Regions from separate parts of the Homo sapiens genome. Here region 1 is linked to region 2. Evidence: promoter capture Hi-C in human tissues and cell types (Jung and others, 2019). All regions are on one chromosome and are shown on one strand. Each heading gives the region's core, a stretch centred on a gene start or on the middle of the fragment in contact. The rest is flanking DNA. Distances are from core to core; before and after follow the strand shown. Region 1 holds the start of SRXN1 (sulfiredoxin 1). Region 2 overlaps CSNK2A1 (casein kinase 2 alpha 1).

What was found. The method cuts DNA at HindIII sites, captures the fragments that hold promoters and counts their contacts. A contact is called where the count stands out against the background at its distance.
Region 1: a contact is called between the fragment with the promoter of SRXN1 here and a fragment that was not itself captured in region 2, in 1 of the 25 tissues and cell types used here (thymus).

The regions. Positions count from the first base shown.
Region 1 is chr20:651,321-656,046 of GRCh38, forward strand. It overlaps SRXN1 (sulfiredoxin 1), which reads right to left and starts at 1,880. Exons shown (of 2, transcript NM_080725.3): 1 at 1,656-1,880. The coding sequence starts at 1,865. LOC107985423 (a long non-coding RNA gene) reads left to right here and starts at 1,633. Exons shown (of 2, transcript XR_001754452.2): 1 at 1,633-2,154; 2 at 2,469-4,726. RefSeq lists a silencer at 1,758-2,317. The HindIII fragment of the contact is 30,072 bases long and covers 1-4,726 here.
Region 2 is chr20:510,247-514,947 of GRCh38, forward strand. The region is part of intron 2 of CSNK2A1 (casein kinase 2 alpha 1); the gene reads right to left. Among named protein-coding and RNA genes, the nearest start is that of CSNK2A1, 31 kb to the right of the region's middle. The HindIII fragment of the contact is 7,767 bases long and covers 1-4,701 here.

The DNA of each region.
Region 1 (4,726 bases), core at 630-3,129, 140 kb after region 2:
ATACAGGTGTATGTAAGCAAAGGCAGAGCTGGTTCTGGCCCTCAGAGCCTACGGTTCTAGCACGGAAGGCAGGTGTCTAGACAGGACGTTAAAAGCCAGTGGGCTGTAATCCCAGCACTTTGGGAGGCCGAGGTGGGCAGATCGCTTGAGGTCTGGAGTTTCAGACCAGCCTGGCCAACAGGGTGAAACCCCATCTCTACTAAAAATACAAAAATTAGCCAGGCGTGGTGGTGGGCGCCTGTAATCCCAGCTACTTGGGAGGCTGAGGCAGGAGAATGGCTTGAACCCGGGAGGCGGAGGTTGCAGTGAGCCAAGATCGTGCCACTGCACTCCAGCCAGGGTGACAGACCCAGACAACGTCTTAAAAAAAAAAAAAAAAAGCCAGTGAGATCAGAGCTATGCAGGTGGGCACACAGGTGGCTGCAGGCCCACAGAAGCTCCTAACCCGGTAGGGATGGTCAGGGAAGATCCTGACACTGAGACAGGAAGACCGAGAAAGAGTGAGAAACGACAAGGCAGAGATAGAAGAGGTTCTCAACGGGAGAAAAAGCCCAGTGGTGGGACAGGGCATGCATGGCAGATCCCTTCCCATCTCAGCCAGGCGCCGTGCTACTATTGTGGCAACAGATAAGATGGGACGAGGTCCTCGCCCTTGTGGAGTGCACGTGAGGTCAGGAAGACAGAAAATAAAATGCAACACAAATAGATGTATAATATAATTTCTGGTGGACATAAGTGGTATCCTGAAAAACATCTCGGGCTAAGGGGAGAGCTAGAGAGGCCAGTGACTCTGACCAAGGGTGATCAAGGAGGCAGAGAGCTGAACCAGGCAGGGGAGCAGGCCCTGTGGTTGTCTGGGGAAGTGGCTCCAGGCAGTGAGGACACTAGTGTAAATACTAGGACTGAAAGTTATCGGGGGTGGCTGTAGAGGTGCTGGGTGGGGCTTAGGGATCTCATGTGCTCACCTTCCAAGGGTCGGGGGAAGGGGACACAACGTTATGTAGGCCTAACCTGACACCTGTTCTTGCGGGGCCCCCAAGTTCCTGCCAGAATCACTCCGGTATTCTTAACACCCTTCCTCAGTGGTGGAGCTGACCCTTGACCTCTCCCACTTCCCATTCAGACAAGGGCCTCCCAGCAGATATGACACACCTAGTCCCACTGTCACTGACTGTCACAGCCATGAGAGCCCACGGCTTATCTCCGGGTAGTGCGGTGGCCATGTGCTGGGCAGTGGGGCCCAGGCTGCCTGGGTGTGAATTCCAGCCGTGTCACTTTTTAAGCGCCTGATCTTAGTCAAGCCGCTGAAATCTTCCCTGCCTCAGTTCTCGTCTGCAAAAGAGCCACTATCTACCTCCTAGGGTTGGCATAGGAAACTGAGGGACTTCCTGCAGTTCCTGGACCACTGCAAGCACTAGCGTTATAAGCGTTATCATCACTACTTTAATTATCTCGCCCAATTCCCTCCTTGCTCAAGTGAGGAAACAGAGGCCCAGAGAGGCCCAGCTACTTGCTCAAGGTCACACAGCAGAGGCTGAGCTCCGGCTGGGCCCGGAACCAGTCCGTCTCGCGTCCATCGCAGCGACCTCCCTCCTCCGGCAACCTCCCTCCTCCGAAGCCCTCCCTCCGGTTGGCTGGACTCCCCGAGGCCTCACCCGGATCGTGTCCACGAGGCTCTGCACCTTGGCGGGGTCCAACACGGACGGCAGCGGCCGGATGAGCACGCTCAGCGGCACGTTGTGCACCGCGGCGATGCGGCCCGAGTGGATGCTGCCGCCCTGCGCGCCGCCGCTCGGCCCGGGCCCCTCGGGCGCCCCCCGACCCGCGCCGGCCCTGCCCAGCGTTCCTCCTGCACGCAGCCCCATCGTCGCCGCCGCCGCGGGACTCGCCGCCTCCCCCCGGCCTTAACTCCGGCCGGGCCATACCATTCCGCGCGGCCGGGGGGGGGGGCCCGTGCCAGGGCAGCGCGCGTTTCTCCCCCGACCCCGCCGCGGTCCGGCCTCGACCCCGCGGTCCCCAGCCCGACTCCGGCTCCGCTCGCCAGGTGCCGCCAGACTCGCGCGGGGCTCAGGCTCTCCACCGGGGGGCGCCTCTCGCCTCCCCTGCGCCGCGCGGCGTCCGGGGAGTGGAAACGCCCGGGCGGGCTGACTCAGGGTGAGTTTGCAGGTCGCGGGGCGGGAGGGGCGCGGGTGACGCACCGGCCGGGCCGACTTAGGCCGCGGGGGCGGGGGCGGGGGAGAGCGCGGCGGACCTGCCCAGCCAGGGTGAGTCGGCAAAGCCCGCGGTGCGCTGCTGCCCCGCTGCTGGGGTTCCTAGCCAGCGAGGTTATGATCCCCACCAGCGGTTCCACTTCCAGTCTGGCGCCGGCTGTGTCTGGAGTCGTTCCGAACATTTTGCACGTGTATTAACGTATCTGAACCTCAAAACAACCCTGCAAGGAAGGTATGACTGTTATTCCCATTTTACAGAAGAGGAGACTGAGACACAGGTTTAAGTGATGTACCCAAGATCACGGAACTAGTAAGTGGCCGAATCCGCGTTCAAATCCAGACGGTCTGGCTCCAGAGTCCGCCTTCTACCCCACCGTTGGCTGCCTTGGTTCAGCAACAGTGACTGTCACACGGAGCCCTCAGGAGTCGCGCTGACAATGGGTGGGCCCTGCCTTCAAGTTCCACACTGTCTGTTTGTGTCATTACAACACTACTGGAAGTAGGTGCAGTTATAGACCCGCTGTTCAAGGTCAGCTGAAATGAAAGTCAGGTCACACGAGTCCAAACTGTGGGGCCACTTAACCACCAACTCCAAGCAGGAAGGTGGACGATCCCAGACTCGGTCGAAGACAAGCATGTCTGGTTTGCTTGTCTTCCTTCTCAACCTGAATGGCACGAACATGGAGAAATGCATACTTACCCTGCCAGCTGGAGAAAACTGGAGACGAAGGAGGGAGCCAGGAGTTTCTACTTTGCCTTCCACCAGTTGCTGACACTTTCTGAACCCCGTCTGTAAAATGAAGTCATGCTGCCCATCACTCAAAGTTGTGTGAATTGAGAGAGTGCTCATAGTGCTCTGTGAATTGCATAACATCCATTTTGCTGTTGAAGATCATTTATTTTGGGTTCTTAGTCTCTCACAAAACCTTAGAACACTGACACCAAGACTCCAGCCTTTCCCTTTCGAAACATAATTCCCGTGCGCACCTAAATGATACTTTATTTCAAGAAGTAGAACTGACACCCACACCTCAGCCCCAGAATTATTCAGAATTAGAGAATTTCATCAAGAGGGAAGTTATCCCTTCTAAAACATCTTCCTCATTACAGGAAGTAAGAATGGCAGGATAACAGTTTCTAGAGTGGAAAAGTGGAGCTCTGGCCTGATTCTATCATCATGGTGTACCCAGGGAGGCCTCATTTCCTGGTATCAAATTCTCTGTGTTAAGATATCTATGGCCCAATTCAAAATGGCTTAAGCAATAAGAAGGTTTGTTTTCTCACATAATAAAATGTTTGGAGGTAGGTATGTCCAAGGTTGGTAAAGAGGCAGTTGAACAATGTGACCAAAGACTCCAGTTCTGGCTGGGCCCGGTGGCTCACACCTGTAATCCCAGCACTTTGGAAGGCTGAGGCAGGCGAATCACTTGAGGCCAGGAGTTCGAGACCAGCCTAGCCAACATAGTGAAACCCTGTCTCTACCAAAAGTACAAAAATTAGGCAGGCATGGTGGCGCGCGCCTGTAGTCCCAGTTACTCCAGAGGCTGAGACAGGAGAATTGCTTGAAACCGAGAGGCAGAGGTTGCAGTGAGCTGAGATCATGCCGTTGCACTACAGCCTGGGTGAGAGAGTGAGACTCTCTCAGAAAAAAAAGACCCTGGTTCTGTCTATCCTTTTGTGCCATCATCCTTGGTGTTCTGTTATCCTGCGGTGTGCCCCTCATGGTCCCAAGATGGCTACTGTAGCTCAAAACATCACATCATTACATGCGAATGTCCACAAGTGGAAGTTAGGACATCCCTTCGAGCCTCTTTTTAAGAGTGAAGAAACCTTCCCTGGCTGGATGCAGTGGCTCACACCTTCTGACCTTCCACTCCTCAAGCCCCGGAGTCAACTCTAGTCACACTGGCCTCCTTGCTGTGCCTCTTCCACAGCGAATGTGTCCTGGCCTCAGACCCTTTACATTTGCTGTTCCCTGTGCATGGAACGCTCTTCCCTCAGGTCATACATAGCATACATTACTGAGTGCTCTCCATGTGCCCAGCATGGTTTGATGCGCTTTACATATATTAACTCATGGAACCTAACAGCTTTATGAGACGAGTCTGTTATCTCCATCCCCATTTGATAGATGGGGCATCCCTGTGGGAGCTCTGCCCATTCCAGAGGTGCCAGGCCATTCACTAATGGGGGCAGGAGCCGGTGAGTAAATGCCAGTCTTGTGCTGTCACAGGTGGACGATTCAGAGAGGTGTTCTAGACCATTCAGATCTTTCTGGAACCTTCTCAGAGACCAGAAGTACTCAGCCCTATTGCTACAACTGACTTCACTAACACACCCTCTGTCCCATTCCTCCCACCCCTTACTTCTGCTTCCAGGGATCACCTCCCACATAAACGACTTACACTCAAGTCTCAGACTTGCTATCAGGGAACCAAAACTAAAACAAAAGGGAAACTTGATACTGGGTCATCCCCTATAGTTCTGTACCTTGCCTGGGTTAAAATTGCACTATT
Region 2 (4,701 bases), core at 478-2,977:
ACCACAACCTCTGCCGCCTCCCAGGTTCATGTGATTCTCCTGCCTCAGCCTCCCGAGTAGCTGGGATTACAGGCATGCGCCACCATGCCTGGCTAATTTTGTATTTTTAGTAGAGATAGGGTTTCTCTATGTTGGTCAGGCTGGTCTCAAACTCCCGACCTCAGGTGATCCGCCCTCCTCGGCCTCCCAAAGTGCTAGGATTACAGGCGTGAGCCACCTCGCCCAGCCCAAGAATATGTCTATTGTTAAGAAATTTTCCTGAAGTAATTAGAAGTAAACAGCCATGATGCATATAATCTACCCTAAAATGATTCAGGAAAAAAATGTGCCCACACGTTTACATGTGTATATATATAGCACACATGACTGCACACTCACAAATGATAAAACAAGCTGGGTAAAATATTACAATAGGTAAACGTGCGTAAAGGGAATAGAGATGCCCTTTGTACTATTTTTATTTACTTTTTGTTGAAATCTTCTTATTTGAAACAAGGTCTCCCTCTGTAGGCCAGGCTAGAGTACAGTGGTCTGATCACAGCTCACTGCAGCCTTGACCTCCCAGGCTCAATCAATCCTCCCACCTCTGCCTCCCAAGTAGTTGGGACCACAGGCGTGGGCTACCACAGCTGGCTAATTAAATAAATTTTTTTTTTGTAAAGATGGGGTTTCCCTATGTTGCCCAGGCTGGTCTCAAACTCCTGGGTTCAAGTGATGCTCCCACCACAGCCTCCCAAAGTACTGTGATTATAGGAGTGATCCACCATACCCAGCTTGTTGAAACACTTTTTTAAATTGTGGTAAAATATACATAACATAAACTTTATGGCCAGGCACAGTGGCTCACTTTGGGAGGCTTAAGAGGGTGGATCGCTTGAACCCAGGAGTTCGCAACCAGTCTGGGCAACATGGTAAAACCCCATCTCTACTGAAAATACAAAAAATTAGCCAGGTGTGATGGTGTCTGCCTGCAGTCCCAGCTACTTGGGAGGCTGAGGCAGGAGAATCACCAGAGACCAGGAAGTCGAGGCTACAGTGAGCTGTGATTGCACCACTGCACTCCAGCCTGGGTGACAGGAGAGAGACCTCATCTAAAAAAAATAAAAACTGCCATTTTATCCACATTTAAACCTAAAGCTCAGTTGCATTAAGTATATTCACATTCTTGTGCAGTAATCACCAGATCATCCATTTCTACAAATTTTTACCATCCCAAATGAAAACTATGTATCCACTAAACACTAATTTTCCCTCCCCCAACTCTTTGCAACCACTATTCTATTTTCTGCCTGAGCTGGCTATTCTAGGAACCTCATATAAGTGGAATCAGACAATATTTGTCCTTTGTTTTGTTTATTTAATTTAGCATAATGTCTTCAAGGCTGATCCATGTTGTAGCATGTGTTAGAATTCCAATCCTTTTAAAGGCTGAATGATATTGCACTGTGTATATATATACACACACACACACACACACACACACACCACATTTTGCTTATCCATTTATCTGCTGATGGACACTTGAGTTGCTTCCACAGCTTGGCTATTGTAAATAATGCTGCTATGAACATAGGTGTACAAACATCTGTTTGAGACCTCGCTTTCAAATCTTTTATGTATATATCCAGAAGTGGAACTGCTGAACCATGTAGTAATTCTATGTTAATTTTTTGAAGAACCAGCATATTGTTTCAACAAGCTGGGCACGGTGGCTCACTCCTATACAGCAACTGTATCATTTTACACTCCCAGGAACAGTGCAAAGGCTACAACTTCTCTACATCCTTACTAACACTTGTTATTTTCTGTTTTTTGCTTGTTTTTATAGAGACAGGGGTCTTGCTTATGCCCAGGCTGGTCTTGAGCTCCTGGCCTCAAGGGATCCTCCCACCTCGGCCTCCCAAAGTGCTCTCAAAATAGACTGTGCCTGGCCTATTTTTTGGTTTTCTTTTCTTCTTCTTCTTTTTTTTTTTTCAGTAACAGCCCTCCTAATGAGTATGAAGTTGTATCTCATTGACTGTGATTTTAATTTGCATTTCCCTAATGATTAATGATGTTGAGCATCTTTTTACATGCTTATTGGCCATTTGTATATTTGTTTTGGAGAATGTCTATTCAAAGCTGTTGTCCATTTTTTGATTGGGTTGTTTTGTTTGTTGACGATGCATTTGTTAACTATACTGTTTTTTTGTTGCTTACAAGCTGCTCATCTTTCCAAGGTAAGCTGTAACTTAGCTACCACACCCAAAGAGAAGCCAGAAGAGATACCTCCTTATGCCCATGGTGTCGGCAGCTAAAGGCTTTCAGAAGAATAGCAAGACTGGGATGGAGATTAATTCTCTATTCCTTAACCGTGACAAACACAATTAATGACATTCCACTCCAAATATATGAGATCAAAAGATTCACATGCTGACTTATGAATTCTCCCACCCAAAAAACTGCTGTAACTTGCCTCTGTTCAACTCAAACCTTCTGAGGTTCCATAAATGTACTAAATGACCAGAAAACAACAAAGTAATTCAAGTACCAAAAGTCTTTAAAATTATTTCTATTTCTTTGATTTTGTAAAACCTGGGTGACATTAATCTATCTTCACTTAATATCAGTTAAAACTGTAAACGCACACACACACAAACACATCAAACATGCAAAAACCAGATGTTTTCTTGTAATTTTTCTTCTTCCCAAAGAAATAAGGTCATCTATGTTGTAGGATTGGTGACTCTGTGACTACTATGCCTGCCTTGACAGCAATGAAAGACACTAGGAAAACCGTAGAGAAAGGTGTAGGTGTGAATATGGCCAAAATAGTAGAAACAGCAGCATGAACCCAACAGAAATGCTGTCCCCAGAAATTTATTACTTTTAATATACTAAACTTTTAAATTCTCAGCCTCTCCTCTGACAGGAAACAGTATCTTTCTCTACATAACCTTTACAGCCACTTTACTCTTCTGGTTAACATTTTATACGTGTAAGACAGCCTTCGTCTGTGGATCTCAAAGCCCTTTTCCTATGCTTAAAAGTGATCTCTCTGTTGGGCTTTTCCCAGCTTTGGTTCATCACTTATAAAACCTGTCTAACTGTGCTTGCAGACTGAAGGGAAGATGAAGTGAGATGATCTTCCAGAAAGGGCTTAGAAACATGAAATGCATGTAAATTTGTATTAAGTAATTACTATCCCCTAGCTCCTTAGTGAAAGCTAATAAGCAGAAACCTATCTTTACAGGCTGGAACCTTCATTCTTTAAAATACAAAAATTATAGTAGCCGTGGTTAATTCCCGGCCACTGAGGGCTAACTCCCAAGTATACATGACATTACAAAATGAGTCCTCATTTCTCCCTGGAAACCATCTGACATATGGAGAATAGCCAACTCCTATTACTAGTCATGTACATTCTCATCACCCAGTCTTCTTCTGCTGTTTCAAGGCCCTGGCATCCTCTGTGAGGAGTGGGAAAAGACTAATAACTAATGAAACTCTTGAGATTCTCCAGTACTTGTCTGAATGACCCTTGAAGCTTTGGGGCTCATCAACTGGGACCTAATTTATGAACTAGCAGATCTGATTCTCCACTGGGAAGACAACAAGCTAACTATTTTTGCAGTACCCCCAAAGAGGTGCTTCACCTTACTGTCACGCATACCAAATAATCTGCTTATAGTAAGAAAGGTATTCACATGAATTTCAAATGGCTGGCCTTCATTAATTATACGGGAAAATAAAACAGAGGATTCTTCAACTGTGACTCTGTAATCTCAGATAGATAAAAGGGTACTAAGAGATTGGGGGTTAAGGGATGGTGATAAAAAGGGGATGTGAAGCCCAGTGTGGTGGCTCATACCTATAATCCCAGCACTCTGGCAGGATCACTTGAGCCCAGGAGTTTGAGACCACCCTGGGCAACACAGCGAGACCTCCTCTCTACAAATAACATAAAAATGAGCTGGGTGTAGTGGAGTACAACTGTGGTCCCAGGTACTTGGTAGGCTGAGATGGAAGGATCACTTGAGCCTGGGAGGTCAAGGTTGCAGTGAGCCATGATCTCACCACTGCACTCCAACCTGGGTGACAGAGCAAGACCCTGTCTCAAAAACAAACAAACAAACAAACAAAAAACAAAAACAAGAGGGGATGTGAAAAGACAGAAAAGGGAGGTCAAAGACCAAATATTATCATTATTATTTTTTTGAGACAGGAGACAGGGTCTTGCGCTGTCACCCAGGCTGGAGTGCAGTGGTGCAATCTCGCTCGGCTCACTGAAACCTCCACCTCATCTCCTGGGCTTGAGCAATCCTCCCACCTCAGCCTCCTGAGTAGTTGGGACTATAGCTATGCGCCATCAGGCCCAGCTAATATTTGTATTTTTTGTAGAGACAAGGTTTTGTCATGATGCCCAGGCTGGTCTCAAACTCCTGGACTCAAGTGATCCACCAGCCTCAGCCTCCCGAAGTGCTGAGATTACAGGTGTGAGCCACCATGCCCAACCAAGATAAACATTATCTTATTTAGAAATAGTATTTCACTTATACCTCTGCAAATGCATATGTATATCACATGTAAGCTAACAGGAAGAAAACACACAGCCTACATTTCTCAATTTTTGGTTTGATTCTTCCCTACATTCCTGATTTTGTCCATCCCTTAAATAGATAACCATCTACTATGAAAAAGTACTATCCTAGGCCTTAGGAA